Linked DNA regions of Homo sapiens: all the other regions are linked to region 3. The links are contacts of gene promoters, found by promoter capture Hi-C in blood cells and fetal thymus (Javierre and others, 2016). All regions are on one chromosome and are shown on one strand. Each heading gives the region's core, a stretch centred on a gene start or on the middle of the fragment in contact. The rest is flanking DNA. Distances are from core to core; before and after follow the strand shown.

Region 1 (2,772 bases), core at 194-2,693, 910 kb before region 3:
AAGGAAAATATGGAACAAGAAAAAGAGAGCATAGGAGGAGTAGCACAGAAGACATAGGTAAGTTAGTGTCAATATTATTTATCTTTAATTGGGTTAATAGATCACAAGTGTTTATTGTCTTAATAAACAAGCAAAGAAATAAATTAGGCAAAGGAAGACTTTGCATAGACCAGTGATGAGAATCTGTCATGAACCAAGGAGTATTATTAATCTAATTCTGTTTACCTGAGAGTTTTAAAAGATGAATAAATACATAAATGAATGAATAAATAAATATCAATTAACCCAAATGAAATCAAGAAAGAGGAGGGAAACAGAAGCATAAGAAACAAACAGAAGCCATAAAATAAGATAGAAGAATAAATACAAATATGTCAGTAATCACAATAAATGTAAAAACACTAAATGTTCCAGTTAAAAAATAAAGACTTTCAGACTACACCAAAAGTAGTATAATGTGTGCTCTTTTAAAGAGACAAATATAGAGTATAGACACATTGGTAGATTTTTGTCTGTAGATTTTAAGACACATTTAAAACAACTTACTAACTTATGAATAAATTTAAAAAATGGAACAGAGCTATAAGAAAGAAAGAAATAGAATTAGAAATTTCAGATATTCCAGTTAAGAAACACTAAGTCTATATGAACATGCAAGTAACTTCTATCAAAGATGCAAAAAGAGTCAAATTTCAGTTTTCCATAAAATATTATGAATGGAAACATGGATAATAGGCTAGCTTTTAACAAAAGCTGGAAAAAGAACAGTAGAAGGAAGAAAAACTTACGAGTTTTTATTGTATTACATACAATAAAATAAACACATTTTTAGGCACTGATGTAAAAAGTCCTAAAAAAGAAAAAAAGAAAAACTAAATCAATAATGCATTTTTAGCAGAAAACAATACAACATACCTAAAATGAGTTTTCAATTTCAGGAATGTAAGATTGGTTAAATATTAAAATCAATTTATGTAATTCCCCTTATTCATGAACTAAACAAGAAAACAATATAAGCTTCTTAATAAATAGGAAAATATTAATAAATTTGACATACACATTTGATACAAACTCTTAGCAAACTAGAAATAGAAGAGAACCTCCTTAGCCTACCTATCTACCAAGGAACCTCTAATAAATATAGTACTTAATTGTAAATCATCAACAGCCTTTCCTTAATATCAGAAACAAAATGACGATGTTCACTATTGTTATTTTTATTCAATGTTGTACAGAATTCCCTATCTTGGGGTCAGCAAACTGTGGCCCGTTAACCCAATCTAGTTTACTCTCTGTTGTTATATGGCCCACGAACTAAATGATTTTTTCATTTTTAAATGGTTGGAAAACAATCAAAAGAATATTTTTGACACATGAAAATTATACAACATTTAAATTTAACTGTCCATCAGTGATGTTTTATTTCCTTACGTATCATCTATTTTGATACTATAACTACAGACTTGTATACCTGCAACAGATACTGTATGGACCACAAAGCCTATCAGGCCCCTTACAGGAAGAGCTTGAAGACCATTGCTTTCGTTGGCAGAAAGACAACAAATTAATTAGTTAAAAAGTTAGTTTTGCTTTGGTATAGTTTACATACAATAAAATTAATCAACTTTAAATGTACCATTAATTGTGTTTTGAAAAATATACACAGCTGTGTAGTCAGCACCACAATCATGATATAGAACATTTTTTATCAGTCTAAAAAGTTCTACGTGCTCTTTTTCTGTGAGTTCTCTTCCCTCACATCCAGTCCCTGAGGATCTCTGATCTGTTCTCTTCATTTTCTAAAATTTTCTATAATGGTATACTGTGTCATCTTGTTTTTGAACTTCTTCCACTTAGCATAAAGCTTTAGAGATTTGTCAATTTTTTTTTTTTTTTGCTGTGTCAGTGATTCTTTCCTTTTTGTTGATGATTAGTATTCCATTTGTGCAGAAATGACTGAATTTATTTATACATTTCACCATATGAAGGGAACAGGTAGTTTCCACTTTTTGGCTGTTATACATAAATCTTCTATAAATATTTGAGTGCAAATCTTTGTGTGACTATATATTTTCCTTAGGGTAAATACCTAGAGATAAAATTGCTGGTTCACATGGTAAAGGTGTGTTTAGTTTTATTAGAAGCTGCCAAACTGCTTTCCAAGGTGGCTGTGCAATTTTCCATTCTCAACAGCAATGAATAAGCATTCTAGTTGCTTCATTCCTTTGCCAGCAGGTGGTACTGTAATTTTTTTTAAATGTTGCCATTCCAGTGGGTGTGTAGTGATAGCACGTTGTTGTAATTTGCATTTACCTGATGACTAAAAATGCTGCATCTTTTTTATATGCACATTGGCAATTTGTGTATCTTCTTTTGTAAAGTTTGCCTAATTATAAAGGGGTTATCTGTCTTTTATTATTGAATCTTAAGTATTCTTTATATATTATGGATATAAGTCTTTTATTAGATATATAGTTTGCAAATATTTCCTCCCAGTTTGTAACTTGATATTTCATTTGTCTAAAAATGTCTTTTAAAGAGCAAAAGGTTTTAATTTTGATAAAGTTCAGTTGATAGTATAGTTTGTGCTTTTTCTTCCCTGTAAGAAATCTCTTTGCCTAGTCAATGGTCACAAATATTTTCCACTGTTTTCTTCTAGAAATCTTACAGTTTTAGCTTTTACATTTAATTACATTTAATCAGCTCTTACATTTAATTATCGATTTTGGGTTGATTTTTTGCATGGTGTGAGGTAAGTGTCAAAGGCCCTTA
Region 2 (2,720 bases), core at 196-2,695, 930 kb before region 3:
TGAGATGCAAAGTAAGCGGGAACCTTGAGCAAGCAAAGAAAATTAGTTACTCAAACAACCCTTGAAATATTTCATTTACTTAACCAAAAACAAATACTTGCTGATACTTTACCTAGCATCCTAAGATGTTCAGGATGTCTCCCTCAATGGAACTCCTGGTAAATACTGTGTATTCAAGTAATCATGTGCCAAAGCCAGGGCAGAGCTTCTAGTTCTTTGCAATCCCTTTATTGAGCTCCTCCACTGGGGAGATATAAGAATGGGATGCATGTATATCAGCAAAGTATTCAGACATAGTATTACAAGCTATTGGAACTCAGAGGCATCTTAGAGAACATCTGTTCCCACCAACTTACTATATATACACGGAAACCAATTTCTTACCCTTGCCCTAGATTGCTCAGTAAATTTGTGCCAAGATAGGAGAAAACCAATCTTTTCACTCATCATTTCATGCTTCTCTGCACTCTGGGCCTATTTGTATTGAACCATTAGACAATTCAAACCACTACTTGTATCTTTCTTAATATTTATTTTTTACATCTCAGAGCTCTACAATTTGTTTCCTTCAAGCTTAACTTTGAGATTATAAAACTGGGTTTAGCCAGTTCTGTATATTACTTCAAGCCAGTAAGATACCCTTGAAATAATCCAAGGACGTCCATGCAAATAGTTGAAATTAGTACCTGCAATATATTTGGAGTATTATGTCTTTATTGTTGTTAAAAAGTTTTTATTGAATGTATGAAAATTATCAAATTGTATTCATCATTATTAACATGTCCTGGGGAAGGAAGGGAAACTTTCTAGGACAGAAGTCACTTTCAGATGTCATGTATGTATTGGGTGTTCAATCATATCTAACACTGTTTTGATTTTTGTGGGAAAATATTCCAGGAAACGCTAATTCTCTTTAGACTCCTTGTTCTTTTATGACTACAATGAACATATGTCTATGTGATAGCTAAAGATATTTTTGAATTGTATGTGTGCTTAATTATCGGTAAGTATAAATATTTGAGAAAACACATGGTCTGGATATTTAAAACCCTCATAAACATGTTGGTACAGTTAATAAACTTATTTATAATTATGTAATAGGCTGTTTGGTCATATTTTTCTGTGAAAATGCAGTTTTATCACTATTATATTTACATGAAACTTATTTGCTCTATGGTTAGGAACAAAAATAAGTTAAGAATCAATAATATTATAGAATAAGGCAGAAATAGTTGACTTACACAGAGGGAAGGGTACCATAGAAATTCTTCCTGATGTTCCAGTTCTTCTAGGACATGACATCTGACTTAGACTTAAGTGAGGATATTCATCAGGAACCTCTTCAGAGCAAGTTGAGAGAAGGAAGAGCAAGCCGATGGATCTGAACATGAAGTTTTCTGGACAATGGTGCTTTTTGCAATCCCTACCTTCTGAGCCATCTTCTTCTGAGCCTTTCTATAACATGTGGAATAAGCTATTTCACTAGAGGACCCCAATTTGCTCATCTGCCCTGGCTGTACAGCATCGAGAAGTATTCAGAGGTCCACCTGGAACTGCTAGCTCTTTTTCTTTTCCCCGATGCCTAGCCCAGCCCCTGGGCTATCACTAAAGTGCAGACAGACTTGCCTGTATTCCACTGCTGTCGTTATTCTAGCCTTGGGCACAAACCCCTTTTCTTTCTCTCCTCATCTTTATTCCTTCTTATTCCAAAGAGTTGGCAGGGTGCAGTGGCTCACGCCTGTAATCTCAACACTTTGGGAGGCCGAGGCGGGCGGATCACGAGGTCTGGAGATGGAGACCATCCTGGCTAACATGGTGAAACCCTGTCTCAAAAAATTACAAAAAATTAGCCGGGCGTGGTGGCGGGCGCTGGTAGTCCCAGCTACTCAGGAGACTGAGGCAGGAGAATGGCGTAAACCGGGGAGGCGGAGCTTGCAGTGAGCCGAGATGGCGCCACTGCACTCCAGGCTGAGCGACAGAGCGAGACTCCGTCTCAAAAAAAAAAAAAAAAAAAAGAGTTTACCCACCAGAGAAAAGCCACTTCAACATCCTTCATGTCTTTCTCAACTCATCTGTGTAGCTTCTTTTATTTTTTACCTTCTTCCTACCAATGTACAGAAAAACAAATCATCCTTCTGGCAGGAATTCTTGCACTTTATCTCTGGTCTTTATTTTGCTCTCTTAGGGACCTTGCTCCAACACTTAATCTCACTTTCTCACGTTTTTAATATTTTTATTACCCTGGATAATTGACCTCAGCTTGGAAGCATGCATAATTTTCCATTATCCGAAAAATGCCTCCCCTTGATTAAGCTTTTATGTCGTTCTGTTACCTAATCTGCTTCCCACAGCTGTGGGTTGGGTGCAGATGACAGTCTGCCCTCTAGGGTTCTTCCGATAGAACAGAATCACAGAGATCCAAGCTAAATTTAATTCAAAGGATGAGTTTTATTTTACAAAGTTAAGAGTTCTGGGTTATTTGTGCTGAAGGAGGCAGTTTTGAACTGAGGCCAAAAAAAGGGATTGATGATATTTCCCAGGCTAGAATGGGAACTGTGTGACCTTGCTGCATACAACCAGGCCTAGGCAGAGGAAGACAGAATGAGAACAAAAGAGCAGAGCTCTGACTGTGTCCGCCAGGGCACAGCTACTCAGGTCTACTCGCTGTGTGAGAACCGAAAGCGCAAGTCAGGCTCACTGCACCTGCATATGGGGAAGCC
Region 3 (2,700 bases), core at 131-2,630:
CCCTCTTTCGCCCAGGTTGGAGGGCAGTGGCGCAATCACCGTTTTCTGCAGCCTCTACCTCCTCGGCTTAAGCTACCTTCCCGCCTCGACCTTCCAAAGTGCTGGGACTACAGGCGTGAGCCACCATGCTCAGGCTTATTGGCACTTTTCTGTGCACTTTTAAATGTAATCCTCTAAATCACTCTTCTCCACCTTTCCTGTGCATAGGAATCACCTGTGGTTCCCGTTAAATTGGAGATCTTGATTCATTAGGTCTGGGGCGGGGCCTGAGCTTCTGCATTTCCATTGAGCTCACAGCTGAAGCCTACCCTGGACCACACCTTCCAATGGAAAAGGCTCCAGTGTGATTTCTAGCCACTAGTATTATCTGCGAACTTGGGAGAAATAAAATGCAAGTTCTCGGCCCCCGCAAGGGCTCTACTGAATCCGAAACACTGTGGGGAGGCCCACCACTCTGCAGTGTTTTAACAAGCAAGTGGTTAAAGTTTGAGAGCCACCCGTAAGTCACGGGTTTCCTAACATGATTGGACACTGGAATCACCTGCGGATTTTTTTTTTTTTTTTTTTTTTGAGACGGAGTCTCGCTCTGTTGCCCAGGCTGGAGTGCAGTGGCGGGATCTCGGCTCACTGCAAGCTCCGCCTCCTGGGTTCACGCCATTCTCCTGCCTCAGCCTCCCAAGTAGCTGGGACTACAGGCGCCCGCCACTACGCCCGGCTAATTTTTTGTATTTTTAGTAGAGACGGGGTTTCACCGTTTTAGCCAGGATGGTCTCGATCTCCTGACCTCGTGATCCGCCCGCCTCGGCCTCCCAAAGTGCTGGGATTACAGGCGTGAGCCACCGCGCCCGGCCTGCGGATTTTAACTAATACTACTGATGCCGCATCTCACCCCCCCTCCCGAGATTCTCAGGTACGGGGCGTGGCCTTGGCGGCGGCCTTATAAAAGCTCTCCCAGGTGATTCCAACCTGTAGTAACACTTGAGAACTGCGTGAGGTGGGGACTTCAACTTTAACTGGACTTATTTTCCTCCTATGTAAAAGGTGGACAATATGCAAGTGGTCCTGACTTTGCTTCCAGATTTTGGCAACTCCAGAGCCCTAGTTCGGTCTGGAGAGCCAGCTTCCCGCCCCGTGTCCTAAGGCCTCTGTCCGAGAACCCAAAGTCCTGGGAATGGACCCGCGGGAGCGGACCCGCGGGAGCATCTGTGACGCCGCTCAGCAACCCGGCGCCGCCCCGGCGGCTCCGACGTGGCCCAGTGTCCGGCTGGCGTGGGCTCTCCAGGCCGCACCCACTAAACCGCGCCGGAGCGGGACACGCATGCGCCGGTCTGGACCCGGCACCCAGTAACGGACTCGAGCTCCTCCCACCGGAAGTGGGCAGCCGCGCAGCGGGAAGAGCCGGCCGAAGCGTGGCGGCCACAGACTGTGGGTACCGGGTCCGAGGGACTCGCGCTTTTCTCTCCGTGCCATGGCGCCAGCGAAAGCCACGAACGTGGTGCGGCTGCTACTAGGCTCCACAGCGCTGTGGCTTTCGCAGCTCGGCTCCGGGACGGTCGCCGCGTCCAAGTCGGTGACTGCCCACTTGGCCGCGAAGTGGCCCGAGACCCCGCTGCTGCTGGAGGCAAGGTGGGTGCGGGCCGGGCCCTCGTCCGGGCGGGTGTGGGCGCGCTGCCACCCTCAGCCGCGCTTTCTTCGTGCTCGCAGCGGGTGTCTGGCTCCCACCCGGGTTCTCCAGACGCCCCCGCTCTGGCCCTGAGCATCACCACCTCCTTCCTTCCCGACCCGGGGCGGCTTCTCGGTTCCCGTGCAGCACTCACTTGCAGTTCCTTTCCCCCTCAGTCTTACTTTACCTACGATTTTTAAAGCTTCCCTGCCCTGCTTTAATACGTTGGGATGTATTAGCATTTACGCGTGGCACTTAACGCAAGAGCTTCTACTGGGGTAGGCAGTTCTGTTCAGACAGTGCTTAAAGTACCTAGTTTCGTAATGATGACATCATACCATCAGCTCCTAGGCTTACTATGGGGAGGGCAGCTTCCTGCAAGGTAATATTTTTCCTGTATCTCTTCCAACGGAATTAGTTCATGACCTGTCATTTACTCTGCAGAACAAAACTTGTAGCTATTGCATTTTGCCCTTTAGTATTCTAGTTGAGTAAAATTAGAAAGTTCTTTCTCTTAGCAAAAATGAAGTTTTACACCAATGACTTAATGGCTGTTCACCACAGCAACAGTGTGTGTCCCTAAAAAGAGACTCCATGACTCCACATAAGTTCATGTATTTGATGCTAAAAGTTCTTTTTTTTTTTCATTTCTATAGTTTATTGGGGAACAGGTGGTGTTTGGTTACATGAGTAAGTTCTTTAGTGGTGATTTCTGAGATTTTGGTACACCCATCACCCCATCAGTATATACACTGCACCCAATTTGTAGTCTTTTATCCCTCACTCCCTTCTCAACCTTTCCCCCGAGTCCCCGAAGTCCATTGTGTCAATCTTATGCCTTTGCATCCTCATAGCTTAGTTCCCACATATCAGTGAGAACATACTATATTTGGTTTTCCATTTCTGACTTACTTCACTTAGAATAATAGTCTCTAATCTCATCCAGGTTGCTGTGAATGCCATTAATTGATTCCTTTTTATGGCTGAGTAGTGTTCCATCATATATATGCCACAGTTTATCCACTCGTTGATTGATG
Region 4 (2,702 bases), core at 190-2,689, 950 kb before region 3:
TGAGTGCCTGGGGAAGTTCCCCAAGGAGGATCTGAGACACACTGAGGATATGGTGCCCTTCTACAGTGCTCTAGACTCAGCCCTTCCCACTGGGCTTGCTGAGCTGTAGGCACCACGTCTTTGGTATCTGGCTACATGTGGAGCATAGGTCACTAACAGAGAGAGAGAGACTGACAGCAACAGTAGAGGCAAGCCTAGACTGGCCTTTGTTTATCCTTGCACACATGTGTGGCTGGGGTCAGTCCACAAGGGCAAGGAGAGGAGGGATGAACACTACTACTCCAACCTTGGAACACAGCACACTATGCTCCTGAATGCCACAGACCTGTCTAATTTTCATTCCTTGCTCCCAGGAAAATGGCTGAGGGGTAAGAGCTTGTTTCCTAAGCTCTCCATAGAACACAAAAAGACTCATGTGGCAGGAATGCAGCTCACTAGAGAAACATGTACACATTACCCATGATTATTTCTACTGATATGCAGCAAGATCATTATTTGAAGAAAGTGAAAGAAGTAAGGAGTGGTTGTCAACTGGCCTGTTATGTCTGAGAACAGATTATTTGCAAAGTCCTAGTATACCCCTGGTTTCCAGTAATATAATAAAATGAAAGCTTGAATTGTACACACAGCCAGCTTAAAAAAATGTCAGTTGCAAATAGATAATTTGCTATTTCAAAGCCCTCAGGGAGGGAAACTGTTATTTTTTACTCCTCATTTTTTTCTCCCTCTCTTTTTCCTGCACCCCCCAACCATGTGTGTGTGTGTATGTGTGTGTGTGTGTGTACACAATGCTGTGGAATGACCACATGGCTCCTTTTGGGTAAATTTGCAAAGATCTTCTCAATTCCCCTTTTGTCTCTTAAGACATAATTATTTATAATTTGTCCCCCTGTGGATGGAGAGCCATCCAGTGTACACAGAGCCCACCTGGGATGAAAGTGTCTAAGAAATTACACATGTACAAATGCAATGTCCAAAATATATCATCACTCAGGGCTCTGAGCTAGAATGACCCAGAATGAAGAAAGGATGATGGCTGTGCCACCTAAGACTAAAGGAGTTGAGATGCTTGTGTGCATGCAGTCAATCAGAGAAAAAACTGCAACAGAAGATGGCAACCATCCAGCTCATTCATAACTTACAGAATCAGTCTGTGGCATCCAACGGGGAACCGGAGATAACAGAAGCCATCTGGATGACTTCAATAAAAATAAACCAATATTTGATGTCTCTTGTCAGCTATAAACATAAGAAATAGGGACTTAAATGCTTCCTTTTAATTGATACTTCTGAAAATGTTCTTAACTTTGCTAACTTTTCCAGGGTTGCACCTGAAGACAGTCAAACAAATGACTTCCTAACTGAAGGCCAGGTCTGACTTCCTGGGCGTGCTACCCGAGCAGTATCCCAGCGTCCCACGCTTAACAGGGTCCCTCATTTGGTTTGATGTTCTGTTGTGGCTGTCTTGAAATTCCTAAGCATGTTATCTTCGAGCTTGTGTTTTGTAAGTGAAATGTGACAGGACAATGGAGCATGTGAGTCACAGAGGAGTTATGTGTAATATGCATGTTCACCATCATTCCTTGCAGCCCTGTTTACAAATAGCATTCACGATGCCCAGTGAGCAGATAATTCTGGTGGACCCACAAGGCCATAGAGTTCAGCGATACTTAAAGCAAGTGCTGGGTGAGTGTGTTAGGTCTACATCTGGGTAAAAGGGGCATTGACAGTCTCCATAGGTCCTGCTTTCTGTCTGAACCAACACTTGCCTAACATGCAGAAAGAAGGTAAGGGCATCCTAAGAAACATTAATGTGCAAAAACTCTGTCCCCTCTTGTCTTGTGTTACTTCCCTGAATAAACCAATGGCTTATACTGACAATGACGCAGAATTAGGGAAGGATAGGGCAATCCATAGTTCATCTTCCTTTCAGTCTTTCTGACTCATCAGTAAGCCAAAGAGAGAGACAGCATTGTTAGAGTATGTGTGTATGAAAAAGTGAGTGTTTCCATTATCCTGGTAAAAACGGAATACACATACATATGTGAGCTTTGAAAGTCAACTTGCATCATTCTGAAGATGCTTCATACTAGTTAAATACTCTTGTACTTGCATTTAAAACTGGCATTGCGCTATATCAACAGTAAATTTCATGCAAATACTTTAAAATTTTAATTTTTCTTTAACTTAGAATGATATTACCTACCAAATAAAAAACCCCACCATGGCAGGTCAAGAGAAAGACTGGAAAAAAAAGAAAAGCTTTATTTTAACACCTGTAAAGGAAGTTTTCTCCTGCTTTTTAAACTAAGATCCTCAAATTTTCAACACTAAGACCTGTGAATTATATAGCTGGCCCTGCTCAAGGTCTAAATAAGTGCATAGGACTATGGTGGAAAGAACTGTGTTAAGTGCACACTCCAGGTAATAATGACCAGAGAGAACACTGTCCTGGGGCTCAGCTCTCCCAACAGGAAAGTGACTGAAGCCCAAAGCCACTGGGTACAGAACATGATTTAAAAAACAAGACTTCCCTTGAGCTGTTCTTTTATCATAATTGGCCTGGAAGGTTGGTTTTCAGGAGGAAAGTCTTCCAGCACTTCCATCTCTACACTGTCTTTACACATTCTCAAACTCACTGCTATCCACCCAAATGGAAATCACTGGGTTACAACCACAGAGATGAAAAAATTTCAGGTTAA
Region 5 (2,700 bases), core at 34-2,533, 980 kb before region 3:
GGTGTGGTGGCTCTTGCCTGTAATCCCAGCACTTTGAGAGCCAGAGATGGGCAGATCACGCAAGGTCAGGCGTTCGAGACCAGCCTTGCCAACACAGTGAAACCCCATTTCTACTAAAAATACAAAAATTAGCCGGGCACGGTGGCATGCCTGTAGTCTCAGGTACTCCCAAGGTTGAGGCAGGGGAACTGCTTGAACCTGGGAGGCGGAGGATGCAGTGAGCCAAGATCACGCCACTGCACTCCAGCCCAGGCAACAGAGCGAGACTCCATCCCCCTCCCCCCCAAAAAAGGATATTATGCCTGGCTTTTACTCCCTGATTTAAAATCTTTATTTGGCTCTCTAGTAGAAAGCAGGTTGGTGGCAGGTCTAGAGAGAATACTTGGACCCTATTCCTATTTTCAAAGTGTGTAAGAAATCACTTAATGTTTCACATTGTTTCCTCTCTGTGATGACCTGTTATGTTTTCAGTATTAAAACTCCTTTATTACAACAGTTTCATTAAACATACTATTACCTCCCTAAAGGCCAAGGCTGTTATAAACATATATTTTTTAATTCCATATTTTTTTTTACCATAAAGGTAATATACATTTAGTATAAACGAATAAATTCAAACATTGATACAGAGAAAAAGGAAAGTTCTTTTTATGTAGAGTGAAGATTAGAGACGAAGTAAAGGTCATGGCTTGGTGGTTAAACACAATCTGACGTGGCCGTCTTATTGGATGGTAATTCCATCAAAAACCGGTGTCAAAATATTCGGCTTCTATGGTAATCACCAGGCCTGCCACTAGAGGGCAGACATGCCTAATTTTGTGATTAAATTTTCTGGAAATGGGATTGAGGCTTTAAGGAGTTTTTTGCAGACCTGACAAGGAAGTAAAACAAAAACAAAACAAAACAACCGCCCTCCTCAGCAATTCTTAAAATATAAAAGAGAGAAAGAAAGGAAAACTGGCTATGTAGCTTTGCTCAGTTCCATTCAAAACACTGGACAGCTACACATTTTTATGTGTATGCAGGTAAGCAAAACATGCTAGCAAAATATGGCCTGTGGCTAGAAATTTCAGGATAAGAGAGAGAGTAGAAATGCTTTTAAGAATCTCCCAGAGGCCAAATGACCAAGAAGGTAGAAAGTCAGGGTAGATGCTATGTCTCTCTCCCACCCATAAATGTGGATAGGGTTCTAAAAATTGAGAGATTTCCGGCCGAGCGCGGTGGCTCACGCCTGTAATCCCAACACTTTGGGAGGCCGAGGAGGGCGGATCACGAGGTCAGGAGATCGAGACCATCCTGGCTAACACGGTGAAACCCCGTCTCTACTAAAAATACAAAAAATTAGCCGGGCGTGGTGGCTGGCGCCTGCAGTCCCAGCTACTCGGGAGGCTGAGGCAGGAGAATGGCTTGAACCTGGGAGGTGGAGCTTGCAGTAAGCAGAGATCGTGCCACTGCACTCCAGGCTGGGCAACAGAGCGAGACTTGTCTCAAAAAAAAAAAAAAAAAAAAAAAAAAAAAAAAAAAAAAAAAAAAAAAGATTAACCAAACTGATAGATAGTACTCTTTAAGTGAAAGGAGAGAAAACAAAAATTAGAAATATGAAGAATGAAAGAGCATATCACTCCAGTGATTGAAAGGAAAATAAAGAAATAATATAAATAACTTTATGCCAATAAATTTAAAAACTCAAATGAAAAATAAAACCTCCCAAACCTGATACAAAATAAGCAGAAAATGTTATTAAGGAGATTGAATTTGCTATCAAAATCCTTCCCTCAAAGAAAATGTCAGGTCCATATAATTTCACCTGTGAATTCTATCAAACACTTAAAGAAGAAATAATAGTAACTGTACACAAATTATTTTGGAAAGCAGAAGAGGAAGAAGGAATATTTTCAACTCATTTAATGAGGCCAGTACCATCCAGATATCAAAATATAAAGAACACACAAACAACAACAAATAAACCTTGCAAGAAAAGAAAATTATAGGTTAATATTACTCAAGAACATACAAGTGAAAATCCTTAACAAAATATTAGCAAATTGAATCAGTCAATATAAAAGAAGAAATAATACATCATGGGGTTCATTCCAGGAATGAAATGTTAGGATAACATTTGAAAATAGATGCTATTCAGCATGTTAACAGAATAAAGATGAAAATTCATATGATTCTGAGTTCAGTAGATGCAGAAAAAGAATTTGACAAACTCTGGCTCCAATTTGTGATTAAAACTCCTACAAATGAGGAATAGAATAATAACCCCATCTCCATTTTTGGTTCTGTGGAGATGGCTGAGGGCTCCCATGAGTCACACATGCTTGAATCTCTTCAACCAGCCCTGATGTGACTATATGCTCTGATCTTTGCATCCTTCTGAGGCACTAGCAAAAGGTTGTCTAGCCAAACTCTTGGTTTCTCCTCCAGAGTGCACTTTCTGATGGTAAATCTCCTAATTTTAGAACTTTTGCAATCTGCATAAACATAATTTTTCAAATCACTGAGTGTTGGTTTTATTTCACTTACTAGTTGTTCCCTCGATTTATTTCTCTCCTTTTGCAGTTTACTGTAAGCAGGAAGAAGAAAGCAGGTCATTTCCTGAGCATGTTGCTGGGACATACCCTCAGCTAAATACGCAAGTTTATCTCTTACAAGCTCCTGCTTCCCACATAACTGCAGGACATAATTCCAGGAAGC

Evidence for each region. Contacts are between HindIII fragments. The CHiCAGO score rates a contact against its expected background, and 5 or more counts as called.
Region 1: a contact is called between a fragment that was not itself captured here and the fragment with the promoter of UGGT2 in region 3, in 2 of 17 cell types (M2 macrophages and endothelial precursors). The highest score is 6.7, in M2 macrophages.
Region 2: a contact is called between a fragment that was not itself captured here and the fragment with the promoter of UGGT2 in region 3, in 2 of 17 cell types (M1 macrophages and M2 macrophages). The highest score is 5.3, in M1 macrophages.
Region 4: a contact is called between a fragment that was not itself captured here and the fragment with the promoter of UGGT2 in region 3, in 1 of 17 cell types (M1 macrophages). The highest score is 6.2, in M1 macrophages.
Region 5: a fragment that was not itself captured here is called in contact with the fragment with the promoter of UGGT2 in region 3 in 1 of 17 cell types (monocytes); the score reaches 6.3 in monocytes.

Annotation. Positions count from the first base shown.
Region 1 is chr13:96,963,408-96,966,179 of GRCh38, reverse strand. All of the region lies in intron 1 of LINC00359 (long intergenic non-protein coding RNA 359), which reads left to right. Among named protein-coding and RNA genes, the nearest start is that of LINC00359, 19 kb to the left of the region's middle. The HindIII fragment of the contact is 847 bases long and covers 1,020-1,866 here.
Region 2 is chr13:96,984,091-96,986,810 of GRCh38, reverse strand. OXGR1 (oxoglutarate receptor 1) reads left to right here. Exons shown (of 4, transcript NM_001346194.2): 4 at 1-1,098. The coding sequence ends at 65. It overlaps LINC00359 (long intergenic non-protein coding RNA 359), which reads left to right and starts at 2,639. Exons shown (of 3, transcript NR_051966.1): 1 at 2,639-2,720. RefSeq lists enhancers at 2,391-2,530, 2,581-2,660, 2,701-2,720. The HindIII fragment of the contact is 1,740 bases long and covers 576-2,315 here.
Region 3 is chr13:96,052,081-96,054,780 of GRCh38, reverse strand. UGGT2 (UDP-glucose glycoprotein glucosyltransferase 2) reads left to right here and starts at 1,380. Exons shown (of 39, transcript NM_020121.4): 1 at 1,380-1,626. The coding sequence starts at 1,469. RefSeq lists an enhancer at 1,119-1,618. The HindIII fragment of the contact is 2,877 bases long and covers 1-1,867 here.
Region 4 is chr13:97,003,524-97,006,225 of GRCh38, reverse strand. No RefSeq gene overlaps it. Among named protein-coding and RNA genes, the nearest start is that of OXGR1, 10 kb to the right of the region's middle. The HindIII fragment of the contact is 1,651 bases long and covers 614-2,264 here.
Region 5 is chr13:97,026,995-97,029,694 of GRCh38, reverse strand. No RefSeq gene overlaps it. Among named protein-coding and RNA genes, the nearest start is that of OXGR1, 34 kb to the right of the region's middle. The HindIII fragment of the contact is 2,836 bases long and covers 1-2,700 here.